Linked DNA regions of Homo sapiens: region 2 is linked to region 1. Evidence: promoter capture Hi-C in human tissues and cell types (Jung and others, 2019). All regions are on one chromosome and are shown on one strand. Each heading gives the region's core, a stretch centred on a gene start or on the middle of the fragment in contact. The rest is flanking DNA. Distances are from core to core; before and after follow the strand shown.

Region 1 (5,915 bases), core at 1,714-4,213:
TATGTAATAACTAAATAAGGGAAATGCTGAAATAGATAATCTGTTAATTATCTTCTCTTTACTGGATTATATGATTTTCCTTCAATATCCAAAACCAGTTTTTTTTGTTTGTTTTTGTTTTTGTTTTGAGGTGAAGTCTTGTTCTGTGGCCCAGGCTGGAGGTCAGTGGCGCTATCTTGGCTTACTGCAAACTCCCGCCCTGGGTTCAAGAGATTCTTCTGCCTTAGCCTCTGGGGATTACAGGTGCGTGCCACCACACCCAGATAATTTTTGTATTTTTTAGTAGAGACTGTTTCACCATGTTGGCCAGGCTGGTCTCGAACTCCTGACCTCAAATGATCTGCGCGCCTTGGCCTCCCAAACCAGTTTTGATATGCGATTTTTCTCTTAATCTAATGGTGACCAATGAGAGGATTTATGAACTGAATAACCACCATGCAATTGAAAGGCTTAGTGCTTCATTCAGAGTCAAATATAGGCAATTAGAATGCAACAGGGGGCCAGGCACAGTGGCTCACTGTAATCCCAGCACTTTGGGAGGCCTAGGCAGGTGGATCACTTGAGCCCAGGAGTTTGAGACCAGCCTGGGCAACATGGCGAAACCCCGTCTCCACAAAATGGAGAGAAAAAAAAAATTAGCCGTGCATAGTAGCATGTGCCTGTAGTCCCAACAACCTGGGAGGCTGAGGTGGGAGGATCACTTGAGCCCGAGGAGGTCGAGGCTGTAGTGAGTGAGCCGTGGACTGCAGCCTGGGTGACAGTGAAACCGTGTCAAAAAAAAAAAAAAAAAAAAGCAACAATAACAAGTAAAAACAACATCAGAGGTAAGATCCTACTAAAAATCTTTACCTTCCTCTCCCTGACTTGGGGTGGTTGTCTTCCTTTAAAAAACAAACAAAAAACTGTTTTGCCAAGTACCAAAACTATGTGTTTGCATCTGAAGCAATAAAACAAGGAGACCAGGTAGGGATGCAGGTTGTTACAGAAGTTGAAATCTATTTCCTGACAAAGGAGTAGCTACAAGTTGGAACACCTGGGGAGGCCTGGGGTAAATGCATATGCAAATAAGTGCTGGGAAAGTGCTCCTGGGATTCACCTCCCTTAAATACTTTCAGAAGTCATTACAGGTTATGAAACTTAGTGTTCTAATCATTACATTTATGGGAAAGAGTGGAAAGCAGTTCAGGTAACATAGCTGTAGTTGAACAGGCTAGGGGAGTGGTGGCTGGAGAAAGAAAAGAAATATAGTTGATCCAGGTTTTGGAAAGTTGAGATCTTGGGATGTGCTACTCCAGGAGAGTTAGGAAAAATACCCTTTTCCTCGACTATGGTACAGTACAGTAAGTATTGACTCTGAAAATGTTCGTAAGTACTGGCTTCCTTGGATCTAGAGGGAGTCACATTAAAATGGCTACATTTGTATCAGAGCTGTCTTTTATTCTTTTTGGCATGGTCAAGTCATTTCTAATCAGAGTAGGGGGAATACTGGTAGATCAGACGTCACTCAAACTCATGAGAATTATCTGTTTAACATCCACAAAGCAAGTAGCCCAACAAGCAAGGTCCCCAGGAGCCTACTTTATCCTCAAGGAATCTGCTTAGTCAATTGACGTATTCACAGGGCTGGAGAGGTATGAGTGGTGGTTACCTTCGTGCCAGAGCAGAACATGCCTTGTAGTTACTGCCATATTCTAGCCAAGTTACTCCATTTACTGTTCCTTTGTTCCTAAATTAACAAGGAGAAAAGACTGTGTGTTCAACACATGACCACAATAGAGAGGTTATTTAGAGAAAGCTTAAAATGTACTTGTGTTTTCTGTACTAGGCCTAGGGCACCCCAGTTATGAAGCCTTGGCCTGAGTTTCTCTCTAGACGGTGCTGAATTGCCATCTAGTTACCTATTCTGACACCAGGAACATGATTCTTCAACAAACATTGACGGAAGCTTACATGGGACCGGATCACAGCGCTGAGAAGCACTGGGGCTAAGGGGCGGCACAAAGTCTAGATATGGTGGCAGCACCTGCTCATAATGAAATGCCCACAGTTTAGTGGAACACAGCTGCTATTACTCACCTGTCTATCATTTTGTTTGGGAGAGCCCTGGTGGGAGAGGAGTATGGTATTTAATATTTAATTGAGCAGTTATATGTGAAAGAGCGTTTTCACGAGACTTAACTCCTTTCATCCTCAAATAACCCTACAAGGCGGGTACTATTCTATCCCTATGTTACAGATAAGGAAACTGAGGCAGAGAAGTTGCGTGCTTCATCAAGGTCACACAACCACTCCGTGGAGGCAAGTTGAACACAGGCTGTCCGGCTTCTGAGAGCCAGTGGAGAGGAGGGAGACGGTGGGAGACGGGCAGGGGGAAAAGGTGGAAGTAGACCCGAAGGGCAGGCTTGATCTTCATAAGAGAAAACAGTACTAACACCATCCACTGATTGACTCGCATATTTCCATCACTTAAAGCTCCTGGCGTCACTGCCAGGAATGGAAAGTTAAAAAACTCCCAGCTCTGTAAGGTTCTGCCTGGATCCTGAAAAAAACCTTCCCACATGCCCCGAGGAAACTCGAGGGCTCGCTTCTTTCTCACATCCCTGGCCCGGGGCACCGGAGGTCCCGCTCCGGCGGAGGAACTACAACCCCCACAGCACCGCGCGCGAAGCTGGGCCCCCCTGAGGGAAGGGTAAGGTGTCCCGAAGGTGCCTTCAGAAAAAAATTACGTACGTTTTTCGTCGCTTTCCCACGATCACACAGATCTCAGGTCCAGGAGGACGCATCGTCTTTTTAGTAACAGTGCATGCTGTGAGGCTTGTAGAGTCGCCTCTCTCTTCAGGCGCAGCAGAGGGCGGCCGCAATAGTACGCTCGCGCGGCGGTGGCGGGTGGTGGTCCTTGGACCACGCGGTGGGCGGAGCCAGCGGCGACGGCCTCCCCTCCCCTCCGGACGCAGGCCGGAAGTACGTGAGAGGAGACTTCCGGCCACTGCGTTGTAGTCGGCCCGGCTGCAAAGCGTTTTTCTGCAGGCTGTTTTCCCAGGTTCCCTCGGCCTGTACCTCGCGCACTCCTCTTGCTCCAGGTCCTTCAGTCTCCGCTCGTCTCACCGTAGGCTGTGACGACATGAGCAACAAAGAAGGTGGCGTCCTTAACAACACGGGGCGTTATTTATCCGGAGGGGGAGGTTCTCCAGTCTTTCTATGCAGTTTTCCCCTTTTCACCCTTGAAGGATGCCTTCGTCCCTTGTAGACTCGGGGGCGGCCCCTCTGTTTCTCTCCCCGGCCAGATCGGCCCTGTTTACACCTCCTTTTTTCTTAAATTTTTGAGGTGTGATTTTATCCTAGTTCAGTAATTGCTGTAATGCCAGATCATAGCACCAGTTGGTGGAAACTTGGATGATTTGCTTGGAAAGGCCTGGGCAGCGTCTCTGTCAGTCTGCGGAGAAAGCCTCTAAGGCGAGGGCCCTGTGGGTATCTGGTTTTAAAGCAAGGAGTAGGTTTGTCTATGTTGTGTTTTGCAAACTCTTGGTGATGGAAGATCCCTCTCTTTTTTTCTTCTCTATATAAGGATCAGGAGGGTTCAGGAAAAGGAAGCATGACAATTTCCCACATAACCAAAGAAGAGAAGGGAAGGATGTTAATTCATCTTCACCCGTGATGTTGGCCTTTAAATGTAAGTTCTCTGCAATGTAAGTTGAAGAAGGGGAGAGAACAAAATTATTTAGCCATGGTTATGCGCAAGAAAACAGTCCCTAAGAATTTAATGTGAAACTTTAGCTGGAGGTTTTGTGATGGCGCTAGATGTACCCTAAAAGTCTGGATTACAAAGGCCTTCACTTTTATGTCCCATTAAGAGAAATATTAGTAATCAGGTAAACATGACTTAAACACAAGAAACAGTAAACATTAATTAATATTTGACATGTCACATACTCAAGAATTGTGTACCTGATAATATTTACTCATCTGTTATATGCTAAAATATATTTTCATTTAGTGTGTATTTGTTTCCTCTACTAGACTTGAAGACAGGGACGGTATCTTTGTTTTAACTGTAACACTTAGCACAGAGTGGGAGCTTGTATCTATTAGTGAATCTCGCATATCTATATACACATATTTTCACAGTCCCCTTTTCTCAGCATATTAACTTGGACAAGTTATTCCTCAATTCAAAACAAACACAAAACAAAATCCTCTTCCTTTTGTCCCTGTCTATCCACTATCCTGTACCTTACGTTTCTGTGATTAAGGAATCTGGGAAGGGCTTAGCTGGTTGATTCCTATTTGCAATCACCTGAAGCCTTGATTGGGGCTGAAGGATCTACAGCTGTTGATAGTTTAGGCCTTTTGCCTGCAACCAGCTCTCTGTTCCTGTCCACATGAACTTCTTGTGCTGCTTGGATGTCCTTTGGTGTGGCATCTGGCCTCCTTCAGAGAGAGAGAGTGCAAGAGAGCAAGGAGGAAACCACAATCTCTATGTCCTAATCTCAGACATCAGACACTGTCATTTTTGTCACATTGTGTTTGTTAGAAGGGAGGCAGTTTTAAAAACTGTCTCACATTGAAGAGGAAGGAAGTTATGTCCCACCCTTTGGAGGGAGGAGTCTCAGGTTATTTGTGGATATATTTGAAAACCACCACAGTATCTACTGTGATCGTCAGAAGTTTAAGACAGCTGGCCGTAATTGAATAAAGAGCGTACTGATACAGAAGGTGGAGTTGCGGCTGGGTGTGGTGGCTCACGCCTGTAATCCCAGCACTTTGGGAGGCCGAGGCGGGGGGATCACGAGGCCATGAGTTTGAGACCAGCCTGGCCAACATGGTGAAACCCTGACTCTAATAAAGTACACGGTGAAACCCCGTCTCTACTAAAAATACAAAAAATTAGCCGGGCGTCAGTAGTCCCCACTACTTGGGAGGCTGAGGCAGGAGAATGGCGTGAACCCAGGAGGCGGAGCTTGCAGTGAGCCGAGATCGTGCCACTGCACTCCAGCCTGGGCAACAGAGCGAGGCTCCGTCTCAAAAAAAAAAAAAAAAAAGTACGAAAAATTAGTTGGTCGTAGTGGGAGGTGCCTGTAATCCCAGCTACTCGGGAGGCTGAGGCAGGAGAATCGCTTGAACCCGGAACGCGGAGGTTGCAGTGAGCCGAGATCGCGCCTTTGCACTCCAGCCCCGGCGACAGAATGAGACTCCATCTCAAAAAAAAGAAAAGGTGGAGTTGCTTCTAAGGTGGTGTCCTCATTACCCGTCTGCTGAACTACAGTTTTTTGGTTTTTTTTTTTTTTTGAGACAGAGTCTCTGTCACACAGGCTGAGATAATAATTAGGCACGATCTTGGCTCACTGCAAAACCTCTGCCTCCTGGGCTCAAGCCATTTTCCTACCTCAGCCTCCTGAGTAGCTGGGACTACAGGCGTGTGTCACCATGCCTAATTTTTTTAAATTTTTTTGTAGAGACAGGGTTTCGCCATGTTGCTGGAGGCTGGTCTTGATCTCCGAGCTCAAGCAGTCTGCCCGTCTCGGCCTCTCAGAGTGCTGGGATTACAGGCGTGAGCCACTGCGCCTGGCCTGAACTACAATTTTCTTTAAGACCTAGCTCAAGTAGCCTCTTTCCTGTGAATGCGTTCTGATTTTTCTCTCAAGCCGACTTGGTGACCAACATGAAATATTTATTGAGTATCTGCTATGTTCTCGCATGTATTAGTAGTGAACAAGAAACGTGGTTTCTGCTTTCATAAGTTTTTTACATATATTTGTTATAGCATGATTACATTTTATTTGTTTACATCTCTGTCCCTCATACAGGACTGAGCTCCTTGAGGATAGGAATTGTTCCTTATCTAACTTTGTGTTCATAGTGTCTGACTTACAGTGGTCATTAATATAGCCATAATAAATAATGAATACATATTGATT
Region 2 (5,915 bases), core at 907-3,406, 1.1 Mb after region 1:
TTCAAGATGGCATGGTCCCACATCCTTATTTTAAAATTGGATTATAGTCACTGCCCCAGAAAGCTGAGGGAGTTAGACAAGGCCATGGAAGAACCCCTTATCCCACTTGTATCATCTGCAATAGCAGGATATTCTACTCTGCTCTTAAATGCTCCAAATAGATTTTTTTTTTAAGATGGAGTCTTGCTCTCTCACCAGGCTGGAGTGCAGTGGCGCGATCTCAGCTCACTGCAACCTCCGCCTCCCGAGTTCAAGCGTTTCTCCCGCCTCAGCCTCCTGAGTAGCTGGGATTACAGGCACGCGCTGCCAAGCCTGGCTAATTTTTGTATTTTTAGTAGAGACGGGGTTTCACCATGTTGGTCAGGCTGGTCTTGAACTCCTGAACTCATGATCCGCCCGCCTCAGCCTCCCAAAGTGCTGGGATTATGGGCATGAGCCACCACGCCCGGCCAGATTTTTTTAAATTACCATTTTTCTCCGTAGTTTTACCTGTTCCAAAAAGGAAGAAGATAAAAGTTCACTTTTAAACACACTAATGCTTGCAGGGATGACAAGGAAAGCAAGTGCATATTGCCAGAACCCTGTTCCATGAAGGTAGGTGTCTCGATGTACACTTCTCTCCACCTTCCTCAACACCTCCCAGGGTGCTACAGCAAGGGAAGTACAGATGTGCTAAGCCTTTGCTATTGGAATAACAAAGAGCGTAGTAAGATGAAAGCAGTGTCTCTTGAAACTCTCCTAGGGCCTTGTTCCTCATTCCATGCACATATCCTGTGCCGACTCAACATCCCCTCTGCTCCACAGCTTATCTCAGAAAGAACTAAGTTACGGTGCCAAGCTAAGAGGATGAATTTAGAAAGCTTCACATAACCAGACGCACAGCGACAGCAGCCATCAGACATCACCCAGATTTAACTGCCCTAAAATTAGCAGTCAGAGCAAAGTAGTTACTGCAATGATTGCGTCAGAGCTATTCTGACTGGCAAACTGCCAGTTTTAAACAAATTGTCCTGCTTTCTCTACCAGGGAAACAATATTTTGGAACAGAGCCAGCTAAGCATTTCAGTGAATGTTCAAATTCTAGCTTCTCTATTAATGTTGTATAATTCAATGACAAGGTGAACAAAGTCTACATAGGCTACATCTGCAAGGGTGTTATTTTCTTTGTTGTAAGCACTTATTCTTTGGGTGAGTAAAGTACTGTGGATGAATCCTTTTAAATATTTAAATGCCTGAAATGTATTTAGGGATTCACATTCAACTGGCTTAAACAAAGATTATGCAAATCTAGCAAAATATAAATGCAAAACAAAAATTGTTTTCCTCTTATATTTCTTTTAATCTTGGCAAAGACTCGGGCTAAAAAAAATGTTCTCTGCATGATCACAGAAGGACCCACTCACTTCCCAACAAAGAATATATAACCTGATTCAATCAGTAAAACTGCTACCTCACCACAAATTACAAAATTTCTAGTTAATAACAGACAATTCACTGGCTGAGAGAACAGGGCAGTTTTTAGACCAGAACAATGAGCTCATTAGCCCAACCCTCAGCCTCCACTTCCCCCTTTCAGTGATAGTGAGTCGGTAATTCCGCCATTCTTATATGCACACACCTTCTTTAGTTCCCTCCCTCTCTCCCTTCTTCCTTTCTGTCTTTTCATTCTTTCCTTTCATCATGATTTATTGAAACCTACCATACCTTACAAGTGAGCTGTAGAATAAAGAACACTATAGCTGGAACCAAGAGAAATGGGTTTAAAACATAAGGACTCAGATTCAGAAAACCACACTTTCATTAAACCTTAGTTTTTGTATCTGTAAAAGGGAAAAAAATCCCACCAGCCTTATAAGGTTCTCGTTAAGTATACATGAGAGAACACAAATGAAAGTTCAAGCACGGTAACATTTTACACTCGCCTTTAAGAATATCTCTCCCCAATTCTTTATTCTCTTCATAAATCAACATTAGTCTCCTTCACTTATTCTTGTCATTTAAAACATTTTTTTTTTTTTGTGACAGGGTCTCACTCTGTCACACAGGTTGGGGTCCACTGGCACGATCAGCCCACCGTAACCTCGAACGCCTGGGCTCAAGGGATCGGCCCTCCTCAGCCTCCCCAGTGGCTAGGTCGACAGGTGTGCACCACCACACTCGGCTCATTTTAAAATTTTCTGTAGAGATGGGGCCTTGCTTTGCAGTCCAGGCTAGTCTCAAACTCCTGGGCTCAAGCAATCCTTGCCTCAGCCTCCCAAAGCACTGGGATTACAGGCATGAGCCACTATGCCCAAATTAAAACATTTTAAATGGGAAAAATGACCTATTATTCCAAACAAATGAGTTACAACGATCCTCAAATAAAATTGGTTGATAAATTGGATGCTTCTACTATCATGTATGCCTTGCTTACAGCACTTATCACAGCATACCTTATACACAAATGTAAACAAATAGGAGTTAGAATGACATCCCTCTAATGTCATATTATAAGAACTAGCACTACGTTAAGATATTAAAGATAAAAGACTTTTACCATATAAAATTAAGACTATGGCTACTGAGCACCTACCACATTTAAGGCATAAATAATATCCTCATGTACTGAGTCAACAAAAGATGCACTATACAATACTGATGGGGTTTTTAAACATCATGATTTCCTGTAGAAATGAACCCTGCTAATGGACTGAGAGCTAAAGGACTACAGACAGTACTACACAATTCAGAAATCCTTTCTGTTCAGTAAGCTTGATTAAGCCCCAGCCAGGGCTTTTAAGTCAACTGCAGCCTCATGGGATTCAAATAGGGCTATGCAGGCATCAGCACAGATGAGACTTTGAAACCTGGGAAAGGTGTGAATCATACTCTCTCATGAAAGGCGGCCACCTAAGGGTGCCCAGGCTCCCAGGAACCACACCCCTCTGAATGGGGCTATAAAGTTCTTGATGTAACAGATGGAACACAGTCCCTCTTCAGAAACTTCCACATTTTTACCAGTTCCATATCAGAGTTCAATCACAGGTCATTTCAAACGACCCAGGAAAGGCATAAATGAGGTATAAACTGTTGTTCAAGATAGATCATGTACAATAGAAATAATGATTAGAACTTGCTCAACAGTATTTAGTTCAACAAAAGCCAAGATAAAGGAAGTTCTTTTACGTTCAACCCACAACTCCCAATCATTTCTTTAACAAATATTTGTTTACTGTGAGCCTATTATGTGGCAAAAACCACCTAAGTGCAGGGAATACAGCAGTAAACCAGAAATGTCCCTGCCTGTTTGCTGCTTATGTTCCATTATTAAAATCGAACAGGAGGATGGGTGGGGGTGGATGGTGCTCGTTTAGCTGGAAGTTACTGGAGATACAAGAGCAGGGCTCCCTGCTGTCTCTCCTCACTCATTCCCAACCCACTAACGGCTGGGAAGCCAGGCATTCCTTGCACTACGGGTGGCTGTGTGCTACAGTTCTGGCCAATCACATACAGACAGAGCTAGGCTGTCAATCTGAACTTTTAACATACCCTGATCCTGGGAATGCTTTCGTCTGAGTGTGATAGTATGATGCTTCTTAAACAGCTGAGTTCAGAACAGGCACAGTGGCTCACGCCTGTAATCCCAGCACTCTGGGAGGCCGAGGCGGGCAGATCACGAGGTCAGGAGATCGAGACCATCCTGGCTAACATGGTGAAACTCCGTCTCTACTAAAAATACAAAAAAAAATTAGCTAGGCATGGTGGCAGGCACCTGTAGTCCCAGCTTCTTGGGAGGCTGAGGCAGGAGAATGGCAGCAACCCAGGAGGCAGAGCTTGCAGTGAGCCAAGATCGCACCACTGCACTCCAGCCTGGGTGACAGTGCGAGACTCTGTCTCAAAAAACAAAACAAAACAAAACAAAAAAACAGCTGAGTTCAATTAGAAACTTTCTAAGGAGAATAGCATCGCCATTACATTAACCTCCTACCCCTCAATAAATGAAACCCCAAACCAAGACCCACAAGCAATTCTGGAAGAAAACAGGCCAAAGTCAGAAATGTCTTCGGGAAAAAGAATAAATACACAGTAAATATAAGGCCCATCAAGAGTGGAGTTTGTCTTCCGCTTGCCTCACAAGACCCTACAGGCTCCCTAGAAATTCCATTTCTCAACTGCTATAAACTCTAACCAGTGATAGTACAACAGTGGTCTCTACACAGGGGCCACACATTTCAAAGATACAAATGCCCTTGAGATGCAGAGAAAATACTTCTACATCTATTTATTTTTAATATTAATCTTCTTAAAATGTACATTTGTTTTATGTCCATAATATCTTAGCACAGTAAAGTATATGTTTATACATACAGATATATTATACATATACACACACACAAACGTGCATGCAGATATGTATACATGTATACGCATACATACATGAACACTTAGACAATTGTGTATAGATGGGATGCACGTTGAAAAAAGTTTGAGAACCTTGAGAACCTGCTAAAAAGAAACCACTGTTTCTTGCATTAGGCCATTTAAACACCTGAAACAGGTAGCATTTGCCCTGTACAAAGAATCAAAACTATAATTCCTAAAATTACTTATTAGAAACTTCAATACGGAGAGGACAGTATCCCAAAGCTATTCCTGAACAATGTGAATACCCACTGTTCAACAAGGAACCAAATGTGTTATCAAAACCACCTCCAGAAGACAGTGAAAGTAGTTATGCTGACTTCACAGGACACTATGTCTTAAGCATTAACCAGAACTTTCTTTTAAAACTCCACACAATAGTTCATCTCAGCAGACATAATCTTTTATTCACCCAGGAGTTCTTACTTTCCACAATAACAATTTTTAACACTGGCTCTTTACCTAGATATTTTTACTTAAGAGTTTGAATAAACTACCAGATAGCTTACTTCGGACTGTTCTGATTTCTTGAGGAACTCAACTAAATGGGGATATTTCTCAGAAGATTAAGCAAATATGTAGAAGTGAAAAATATGGAGTAATCTAATGGGCAGAGTTCAAGACACCCCTTTTGGCTAAATGTTTATTAGTAAAATAGGAAGAGAAGTATATCAACCAATTAAAACAAAACCGGAAGAGACTGTGGTGTTCTTCCCCACTATCTGAAAGCAATTCAACACAAGAGAATACCAAACCAAAAAATAAGCTGAAGAAAGTCCAACAATATTCTGATTTTTCCTAGAAGCACTGCAGTTCCTAAGGCCTCCGGAGGTCACAGATCACAGTGTGACCCTAGTGTCTCAATCCAGTCAGTCATTTAACACATTTTCTTAATCATATGCAGAAGAGAGTGCTCGTTACTAGGGACACACTGAAAATGAACTCATTATTACTCAGCATAACTTGGTCAGTAGAACCAGCAAAGGAGGTTTGACACACTCTTTCAGGATATCCATGTGGAAAGGTGGAGCTATATGGGCTAGTTATAAGATATGAAGAGCATTAGTAGTTAACTATAACCGAGAGTGTGACTCCTTGTAAGCCTCGAGGGAAGCTTCCAGAGACACACTTCGTGTTGTTCAGCCAGTTTAACAATTTCATCACCGGCTTAAGTAAAGATATAAAAGAGTCTGATCTAATAATGTACAGACAGCATTTCTTTGGGAGGACAGGTAAAGGTGCCAAATAATATAATCAAATTCTAAAAAGCATGATGGAAAGAATCAGCTAAAATAAAGCAAAACCACAGCGCAATAAATGTTAGGTTTTGCAATGACATCAGCGCAAGATGGAAAGACGAGGTTCAATGGCAGCATGTGATTAACGGCTCGGCAGGTTTTAGCGAAAAGGAAACTCGTTGAGTCTGGCCACCAGAAAAGTAAATGCAAACTTGGACTACATCAGTGCAAGCAACATGCAACCTATGACAAGACACTCCTGCTGTACTCTACACA

Evidence for each region. The method cuts DNA at HindIII sites, captures the fragments that hold promoters and counts their contacts. A contact is called where the count stands out against the background at its distance.
Region 2: a fragment that was not itself captured here is called in contact with the fragment with the promoter of TSNAX-DISC1 in region 1 in 1 of the 25 tissues and cell types used here (hippocampus).

Annotation. Positions count from the first base shown.
Region 1 is chr1:231,525,690-231,531,604 of GRCh38, forward strand. It overlaps TSNAX-DISC1 (TSNAX-DISC1 readthrough (NMD candidate)), which reads left to right and starts at 2,964. Exons shown (of 16, transcript NR_028393.1): 1 at 2,964-3,137; 2 at 3,566-3,670. TSNAX (translin associated factor X) reads left to right here and starts at 2,980. Exons shown (of 6, transcript NM_005999.3): 1 at 2,980-3,137; 2 at 3,566-3,670. The coding sequence starts at 3,122. It overlaps TSNAX-DT (TSNAX divergent transcript), which reads right to left and starts at 2,867. Exons shown (of 3, transcript NR_173106.1): 1 at 2,731-2,867; 2 at 1,649-1,726. RefSeq lists a silencer at 274-568 and enhancers at 2,247-3,068, 2,537-3,736. The HindIII fragment of the contact is 13,165 bases long and covers 1-5,915 here.
Region 2 is chr1:232,619,732-232,625,646 of GRCh38, forward strand. The region is part of intron 1 of SIPA1L2 (signal induced proliferation associated 1 like 2); the gene reads right to left. Among named protein-coding and RNA genes, the nearest start is that of SIPA1L2, 7.4 kb to the right of the region's middle. The HindIII fragment of the contact is 3,951 bases long and covers 182-4,132 here.